Linked DNA regions of Homo sapiens: region 1 is linked to region 2. The links are contacts of gene promoters, found by promoter capture Hi-C in human tissues and cell types (Jung and others, 2019). All regions are on one chromosome and are shown on one strand. Each heading gives the region's core, a stretch centred on a gene start or on the middle of the fragment in contact. The rest is flanking DNA. Distances are from core to core; before and after follow the strand shown.

Region 1 (4,743 bases), core at 1,326-3,825, 490 kb after region 2:
GACAGAGTAAGACTGTTTAAAAATAAATAAATAAATAGTAAAAGTGTTAATAAGTGGACTTTAATTGCAGTGTCTATTAATACTAATAACAGCATAAAAATAAAAATATAATTGATAGCCTCTTTAGTGTCACGTTTATGGTTTTATTTTAGTGAATATAAATTTTTGAGATTTGAATTTTCATGTCCAAATGGTCCTGGCCTCTAAATGTCTCCTAAACATATTTTTCTTTCTTTTCTTTTCTTTCTTTCTTTCTTTTTTTTTTTTTTTTTTGAGACAGAGTCTTGCTCTGCTGCCCAGGCTGAAGGGCAGTGGTGTGATCTCAGCTCACTGCAGCCACCCCCCTCCCGGGTTCAAACGATTCTCCTGCCTCAGCCTCTGGAGTAGCTGGGACTACAGGTGTGCGCCACCACGCCAGACTAAATTTTGTATTTTTAGTTGTGATGGGGTTTTATCATGCTGGCCAGGCTGGTCTTGAACTCCTGACCTCAGAAGATCCACCTGCCTCAGTCTCCCAAAGTGTTGGGATTACAGGGATTAGCCATCGCATCTGGCCACCTAAACCTATGTCCTCCATGAGGCTATAAGATTTTCACCTGCAAATACCAGCATTGTTTGTTTCTTTTTAAAAGATACTTCAGTCAAGGAAAGGCAGAAAGCCAGGCATGTTAGCTCATGCCTATAATCCCAGCACTTTGGGAGACCGGAGGCAGGAGGATTGTTTGAGCCCAGGAGTTCAAGACTAGTCTGGGCTACATAGCAAACCCTGCGTCAAATTAAAAATAAAAAATAAATAGGCTGGGCATGGTGGCTCATGCCTGTTATCCCAACATTTTAGGAGGCCAAGGTGGGCAGATCACCTGAGGTCAGGAATTCGAGACAAGCCTGGCCAACATGATAAAATCCCGTCACTCCTCAAAATACAAAAATTAGCCTGGCATGGTGGCACACACCTGTAGTCCCAGCTACTTGGGAGGCTGAGGCAGGAGAATCGCTTGAATCCGGAGGCAGAGGTTGCAGTGAGCCCGAGATCATGCCACTGTACTCCAGCCAGGGTGACAGAGCAAGACACTGTCTTAAAAGTAAAAATAATAAAAATAAATAAAATTAATAATTAAAGAAATAAAGAAGGAACACCACAGGGGAGCAGGCCTGGTGTCTGAATGTTAAGGTAGGCCCTCTGTGGATGTGCATCCTTAACCTTTTCCTGATTAGATCATTAAAGGTGCAGCAATGCTCCTGCTCATATGACTTTTTTTTTTTTTTGAGATGGAATCTTGCTCTGTCGCCCAGGTTGGAGTGCAATGGCGCGATCTTGGCTCACTGCAACCTCCGCCTCTTGGGTTCAAGCGATTCTTCTGCCTCAGCCTCCTGAGTAGCTGGGATTACAGGCGCGTGCCACTATGCCTGGCTAATTTTTTTTGAAATTTTTTTAGTAGAGATGGGGTTTCACCATATTGGTCAGGCTGGTCTCGAACTCCAGACCTCGTGATCCGCTCACCTCGGCCTCCCAAAGTGTTAGGATTGCAGGCGTGAGCCACCGCGCCTGGCAACTCATATGACTTTTAAACACTTCTCTTTGGGGAGAGAGATTTTAGAGAATGGGAGTAAAGAGAAAGGCGGTGAGAATCCCAAGTACTTTCTCTATCTTAGAGCAGAAGAAATAAAGGGAAGAGTAAAAGCCCAAGGCCCAGAAACGGATTTGCTTCTTAAAGGGCTGTTCTGTGTCCCTACGGGCCTGAAGGTCAGTTTATGTGCAATGCTTTTTAAGGTATGGGTTGCTTTCTTGCATTGTAGCTACTACCTCCCTGGCCTGCTGGTTACTGACCAGAGGGAGGGAGAGGGTGTGATTGTTTGGAAAGAGTTTAAACAGTGACAAGAATTGAATTTTATTTATTTGTTATTCATTGCACAATCCAATAACAGCGATGGCAATGAAAACGAAAGTTAATCTACAATCCTATCACCCTATTAAGTCACTTGTTTCTATTTTCCCTTTTATTCCCTCATGCATTAAACATTACGCAAAGCACTCCGCTAGTCTTGGTTAAAGTGCAGCTTGTATACATTCTGAATAAAAATTTGCATTTTGCTTTTCTTTTCCTTTTTGTATTTCTGAGGCTGCAAAATACATCTTCACAAGAGTGGCTTTAATAGTTACCTAACATTCCATCCTGCACGTACATTTCAAGGCACTGCCGCAGTGCAATATCCAACATTTAAGCGTCAACGCCAACAGATTGGACCTAGCACTGCAGGGACTGGAGGTTGGTCAAGGTCAGGCGGAGGCTGCCAGGCTACCAGGGTGGAGGAAGGCGCCGAGGCAGAGGCCAGTGCGCCCATCGCGCGGCTCCTCGGGGCACCTGCTGCCTTGGCGCCTTTTCCCTTGGCCTTCGCCTCGCCCGCAGCGCCCTCCGCATAGGGCCCCGCCCGCTGCGCGCGCATCCCCGCCCCCCGGGCGATCTGTCAGAGCACCTCGCGAGCGTACGTGCCTCAGGAAGTGACGCACAGCCCCCCTGGGGGCCGGGGGCGGGGCCAGGCTATAAACCGCCGGTTAGGGGCCGCCATCCCCTCAGAGCGTCGGGATATCGGGTGGCGGCTCGGGACGGAGGACGCGCTAGTGTGAGTGCGGGCTTCTAGAACTACACCGACCCTCGTGTCCTCCCTTCATCCTGCGGGGCTGGCTGGAGCGGCCGCTCCGGTGCTGTCCAGCAGCCATAGGGAGCCGCACGGGGAGCGGGAAAGCGGTCGCGGCCCCAGGCGGGGCGGCCGGGATGGAGCGGGGCCGCGAGCCTGTGGGGAAGGGGCTGTGGCGGCGCCTCGAGCGGCTGCAGGTACACGGGGTCGGCGGCTGTGCGCAGAGGCGTCCCTGCGCCTCTCGTCCCTTCGCCTCTCGTCCCTTCCCTTCTCTCTGCCTTCTTGCCCGCCTCCTCGGTCACAGAGCGACGAATGACGAGACCAGGTGTACCCCCACTGTCGCTCTCAGCCCCGGGGACTTCGGGTCCTCGCCCTTGAAGGCCGCAGGCCCTAGTGCGCCGGCTCCGGGCTGCGGGTCCGGGAGCGCGGGCGCAGCCAAGGTGCAGCTGCGCGGCGTGCGGCGCCGGGGGAACACGTGGCTGCTCCAGGAAGTCGCCCCAGGGAACGGCTGGGATTCGTGGGTGACCTTGGGCTCCTAAACCTTCGGTTCCCCGGGCTCCGGGCGGGCCCCGTTCTCACTGCGGAAAGGGACAAAGCTGTCCCCGATTCGGTTACTAGCGTGTTACAGGCATTAATTAGATACGGGTTTCTGTAAACTTACCCTTCGGCTCTGGTACAACCTGATCTTGCCATGCTCTGCCTGTTCGCCTTGTGTGTGGATTCTGTTTTCTCAAGGCAGAATCCGACTGAACGCCGCAGGTGTTCACATTAAGAATATTGCTAGCAGTTCTCACTACAAGACGGGAGCCATAGGAGTGACTTATTTGTGAAAGATACTTGGAGATTAGCGGTGTGGTCAGAGGGCTGTGCTGGATTGATGGGCGCCGGAGAGGCCGATTGTGTCACATTCTGCTGGACAGTTCTTTTAAGGTTGGGAGGGTGGGTAAGAAAATACATTCTGATTCGGCTCTTTTCGGATAACGCTTTCCCTCTGCTTACTGCTTGTAGAGACCTCACTTACCCGGGGGACTGGATTCTGCAGCTTTTTCCATTTTCTTCCCCGTTGATAAGAGGATTAAAGTAGGAAATTGTATTTGGCTACCCCATGCTTATATGCTAAGCTTACTGTGAAAATTAAGGTTAGGCTGTCTAGAGTACTTGTGGACCCTGCTGGTTCCCCCCGCCCCCCGGCCCTGAATTTTGGGTTACAATATGCTTCTCAAGAAAACTCAGAGTTAAGATAATTTTTGTCATCGATTTTGCAAGGTTATATATAGCATAGCATCCTTCAATTTCCTTTGGATGTTCTTATCAAGTAATGGTGGCTGTAAACCTAGCCTGTGTTGAAGATTGTTAGATAGACAGCAGTTTGGCTAACTCCGCCCTAAGGCGAGGCAGTTACTTGCCTCTGATAATGTATTTAAATGTCATGGAGCAAGATTCCCAGCTAAACCTGAATCGATCACAATGCTAGTTAAAAATGACCCTCGGCTGGGCGCATTGGCTCCCGCCTGTAATCCCAGCACTTTGGGAGGCCAAGGCAGGCGGATCACCTAAGGTCAGGAGTTCGAGTCCAGTCTGACTAACATGGTGAAATCCTGTCTCTACTAAAAACACAAAAATTAGCCGGGCATGGTGGCTCACGTCTGTAATTCCAGCACTTTGGGAGGCCGAGGCAGGTGGATCACTTGTGGTGAGGAGTTCGAGACTAGCCTGGCCAACATGGTGAAACCCCGTCTCTACGAAAAATACAAAAATTAGCTGGGCATGGTGGTGCACACCTGTAATCCCAGCCACTCAGGAGGCTGAGGCTCGAGAGTCGCTTTAACCTGGGAGGCAGAGGTTGTAGTGAGCTGAGATCGTGCTACTGCACTCCAGCCTGCGCGACAGCGAGATGCCATCTCAAAAACAACAACAAAAAAACTCCCTACTAAACCAGAAGAGTGATGGGGACGGGAAAAGATTCCTGGTCCAATGTTTTCATTATATTTTTCATATCATTTGGAATCTCATGCATCAGGCATGCCCCAGTACTGTTAAAGACAATATTTTTACTCATTATCAGGTAGTTCAATACCAGTTATTACAGGATAGGGAAGTCAGTCA
Region 2 (4,641 bases), core at 1,329-3,828:
GACAAAATTCCAATCGTCTGTACTCACCTATATAAATTACAACCAGTATCCACTGAATAGCCACCACGCACAAACAGTCCTAGTAAATTATTGTTATTTCGCTTAATAGAAAAACAACTTGAGGCCGGGCGCATGAGCTCACGCCTGTAATCCCAGCACTTTGGGAGGCCAAGGCGACGGATCACGAGGTCAGGAGATTGAGACCATGCTGGTTAACACGGTGAAACCCTGTCTCTACTGAAAGTACAAAAAATTAGCCGGGCGTGGTGGCGGGCGCCTGTAATCCCAGCTACTCAGGAGGCTGAGGCAGGAGAATGGCGTGAACCCGGGAGGCGGAGGTTGCAGTGAGCTGAGATCCCGCCACTGCACTCCAGCCTGGGTGACAGAGCGAGACTCCGTCTCAAAAAAAAAAAAAAAAAGAAAAAAGAAAAGAGAAACAACTTGATAGTTTACATATTTAATGGCAATGTTCCCTATCTTCTATAACTAAAACCGGTTTTACTACATAAGTATAAATTTTACATGCTTCACATGAAAAAAAAATTTTTACTTCTTACTCCGACCCCTGTTGGCAAGCTAGCATTAAAAAGGGGGTGTTATCGCGCGGTGGCTCACGCCTCTAATCCCAGCACTCTGGGAGGCCGAGGAGGGCGGATCACCTGAGGTCGGGAGTTCGAGGCCAGCCTAACCAACAAGAAGAAACCACAACTCTACTAAAAATACAAAATTAGCCGGGCATGGTGGCGCATGCCTGTAATCCCAGCTACTCGGGAGGCTGAGGCAAGACAATTGCTTGAACCTGGAAGGCGGAGGTTGCGGTGAGCCGAGATCACGCCATTGCACTCCGTCTCAAAAAAAAAAAAAAAGGGGGGGATGTTATCGTTTTAGTTACTAATGCATTCATTATGTTTAACACATTGCAATCAGACTTTATCTTCTCTTATATATGATCTTGATTGACTGCTATACTGAATAGCTGTTAACCATTCAACTCAACTCAAGACCAAGACCCTTTGTTTATTCGGCCTGAGAGTCCTTTCAGCCGTACCACAACTTGTTCCTTGACATTTTTATTTTGTATATGAAGGCGGGCGGAATATGCAGGAAGGATGCAGCGAAACTGTAATCAGCACGTTAGATGACAAATAGAAAAAGAGAGACACCATCAATGTGGAACTATTAAAAAGTTAGCAAGGAAACAGCCAATAACAGCAGGACAAAGCAGTATGTTAGGTGGTGCCCGTGGACGTTCTATAAAAGCCTGTATCTTGTAAGTGAGCAGGATGACTAGAACTACACTCACTTGTAAGCCTCCAATATAGTGGAGGGAACTAAAGAGAACTTGGGGGAAAATAATGAAAACAAATGGTTAAAAATCAGAGCTTGGAAAAGATGAGATAAACGTGGAGTGAAAGCAAACTAGAAACTTAGAAACTTAGAAACTAAGCCCATGTTAAGGTGGCCGGGATTATTTAATATAATGAAGTCTATCTGGAGGCCGGGGAGAAAAGTAGGATGAGGGCATTAAAAGGTACAAGAGTGGTGGTCTGTCTTTAACGGGGAAAACTGTCAAAAGTTGAATGAGTGAGGCAAACTACCTAGTTGTTTGAAAAGTGGATCACGGAAGTGGGATGGGTTAAGGAGCAGAACTTCGATCCAAAGAAAAGAGAATCTTTATCTTGGGGGGAGGTGAGGAAGATACTGACTGGAGCCGTGGAAAGGCGGGCTGGTGAGGCGAAGCTTCTGACTCAGAAGCTCGGATGAGAAACACCGCGAACGACGCCGGGGAGCGGGACTGGGGGCAGCGGTGTGGCCCGGGGCTCTCTCACCTTGGCCTTGTAGCTGGGCAGGTTGCACAGGATGTCCGTGCGCAGAGCCTCTTCTGCCAGGCTGCGGGCGCACAGGCTCCGCCACACCTCGCTGTTCTCATCGCCGTGCAGGCAGCGGTACCAGTGCTTGCACACCAGGGCGCAGCTCCGCAGCTCGGACAGCTCCAGGTAAGAGAACACCAACTCCAGCACCCGGCTGGGCAGCCGGCCCCCGGCCCCCGCGGCCCCAGAGCCCGAGCCCGCGCCCGCGCCCGCGCCGCCGCCGCTACAGCCAGCGCCGCCCGAGGCTGCCCCAGCCCCCGGGGCCGGCGCCGCCATCGCCTCACCAGCCGGCCCTAGGGCCGCCGCTGCCGCCGCCGCTTCCCGCCGTCTCTGCTCGGAAGGCCAAGCCTCGCCCGGAGACCGGAGCGGCTCGCTCACCGCCCCTGTCAGTGCCAACCGCCGGCGCCTCCACCACTCCCGCCCCTGCCCGGGGGCGTCCGCCGCGCGCCCCGCCTCACTGAGGGCAGACGCACCGGCTGCAGGGGCGTCCTCCGCCCCTCCTCCGCGGCTCAGCGCGGGCGCCGAAACCGCCCGACTCGCCCGGCCTCTCCGCGGCGCGCCAGCGGCTCCGCCATGCGGGTTGAGGGCACGAAGCAAGGGCGCACGCCCAGCTCGTTCGCGGTTCCTCTCGGCCCCGGATGTGACTGTTTGGCTGCGCCGCCTCACGCCTGACGCTCGACGGGATTGGGCGCCGGCGGGTGAGGTTATCACTAGGCGCCGAGGAGGGGAGCGGGAAGCGCAGGTATGAGGCTGGCGCCGGTGGCTTCGATGCTGCTTTCCGGTGACTTCGATGCTGTTTTCCAGTGCTTTTTCCTTTTTCTGGTCTGGTGGCTCCGCGTCTGCTCTCCTGGGCTCCCTTTCCTGTGACGTTTCCCTGTGTCCGTTAGGTCCTTGCTTCAGACTCCAGCTCAACGCATGAAACTTTTCTCTCCTTGCTTGCCGGGTCCTGGCTCCCCAACCTTTTTGTGTAGCTTGGGCAGCGGAGGCCGTCTTTACCTGGTCAGGCCCTCTCGTTCTCCCTAAGTATCGGCACTTAGCGAACGTCTGTCCCTGTGTGCCTTCGCAAAGTAAGGTGGCTGCGACTGAACACCCCCTCGCCCAAACGTTCGAGTGCCATTTGAGCGCTAATTAAGTGCTGCCGTCTTTTGGACAAGATGTGGTCTTTACTGGATCCACCGCTTAGTAAGCAGATGAAGGCAATGTAGTTTTAGTCAATTAAACATTCCAATAGGGAGAATGACGTGGAGGCTATAATTATAGATGGATTCTTGGAAGGGGAAGAATTTCAGCATCCCAGCTTGGGCAACATTGCGAGGCAGTGTCGCTACAAAAAAATAGAAAAATTAGCCGAGGGTGGTGGCGTGCGCCTCTGGTCCCAGCTACTTGGGAGGCTGAGCCCGGGAGGTCGAGGCTGAGGTGAACCGTAATCGCCCTGCTGTGCTCCAGCCTGGGCGACAGAGTGAGCCCCTACCTCACACACACACACACACACACACACACACACACACAAGAATTTCAGCATTATTTGATTATACTACGATTTCCTAGGTGGCCCCAAAGTTTTCCGACAGCCTTTAAAGCATGCTTAGTAAGAGAATAATAATAACCATCATTTGAGCCACGGTGTGAACCAGGCACTGTATACTACGTCATTTACGCAGATTTTTATATACGTAATCCTCAAAACAACTCCATGAGCTGAGTAATTAAAATAATAGGGTTCACAGACTCCCTTGGTCAACTCCAATGTCTTGGAACCTTTATGTAGTAAGAAATCTTTTCTGAAGCTTCTTGCTATGTATAATCCATTTCTTAGTCTCTAGTAAAAGCAAAGGAACGGTGGCTACCTTCCCTACCCTCTGATTCATGGTGTTTGATTATTATTTGCCTGTCCCTTCTCCTCATGTCTTTTTCACCAAGTCCAGTAACCCTAATTCTTTTCATTCTTACCAGTGCCAGCGCCACAGCCCTTCAATCATTTTGGTTGCTATCCAGCTTCTCCACATCAAGTCCAACTTCAGAAACCCCAAGCCTGTAGAGAAAAGTTGACCTGTGCTGACTCTGGTGATGGTGACTGTCTCTCACTAATTTCTTTGAAGTCTTCAAGGATAAGCAGAGTTGATCCATCTGAGAAAGGGATCATGAACTAGACAGAATGAACAGCCTTAGAGGCACAGACTCTTGAACGGGACGGTGGTGGTATGACTAGTGCAGAGTGTTTAGAGATCACTCAGTTTTTAAAGACTGGCCTTTATCGTGTCTCAGTGCAGCCGAGGCAGAGCCTTTGAAGGATGCGATGTTGTCATTCTTACTAATCTAGTCCAGCCGCTGAGGTGACTTTCAACGGCAGACCGTCTCCTGAGCGCCCCAGGTAGAATTTCAAAGTAAGATTACCCTTCTCAACCCCTCCTTTTCTTTTTTACAAATCTTTCACCTGCTCATCACCCACCCCACCAAGCCCCTTCCCCATGTTCAGTACTCTCATTCTGCGCTCTGGCTGATGAGAACTGCCGGCTGTGGCACTTCACCCTTTTAAAAAATGCTCTCGGCCGGGTGCCGTGGCTCACGCCTGGAATCCCAGCACTTTGGGAGGCCGAAGCGGGCGGATCACCTGCAGTCAGGAGTTTGAGACCAGCCTGGCCAACATGGTGAAACCCCATCTCTACCAAACATACAAAAATTAACCGGGCGTGGTGGTGCATGCCTGTAGTTCCAGCTACTCAGGAGGCTGAGGCACAAGAATCGCTTGAACCTGGGAGACGGAGGTTGC

The links. The method cuts DNA at HindIII sites, captures the fragments that hold promoters and counts their contacts. A contact is called where the count stands out against the background at its distance.
Region 1: the fragment with the promoter of TFRC here is called in contact with the fragment with the promoter of WDR53 in region 2 in 1 of the 25 tissues and cell types used here (mesenchymal stem cells).

The regions. Positions count from the first base shown.
Region 1 is chr3:196,079,922-196,084,664 of GRCh38, reverse strand. It overlaps TFRC (transferrin receptor), which reads left to right and starts at 2,575. Exons shown (of 19, transcript NM_001128148.3): 1 at 2,575-2,622. RefSeq lists silencers at 2,253-2,592, 2,643-2,942 and an enhancer at 3,824-4,323. The HindIII fragment of the contact is 11,516 bases long and covers 1-4,642 here.
Region 2 is chr3:196,566,491-196,571,131 of GRCh38, reverse strand. WDR53 (WD repeat domain 53) reads left to right here and starts at 2,578. Exons shown (of 4, transcript NM_182627.3): 1 at 2,578-2,613; 2 at 3,825-4,255. FBXO45 (F-box protein 45) reads right to left here and starts at 2,472. Exons shown (of 3, transcript NM_001105573.2): 1 at 1,830-2,472. The coding sequence starts at 2,147. RefSeq lists enhancers at 123-670, 671-1,219, 3,237-4,436 and silencers at 1,560-1,854, 1,976-2,515. The HindIII fragment of the contact is 3,803 bases long and covers 621-4,423 here.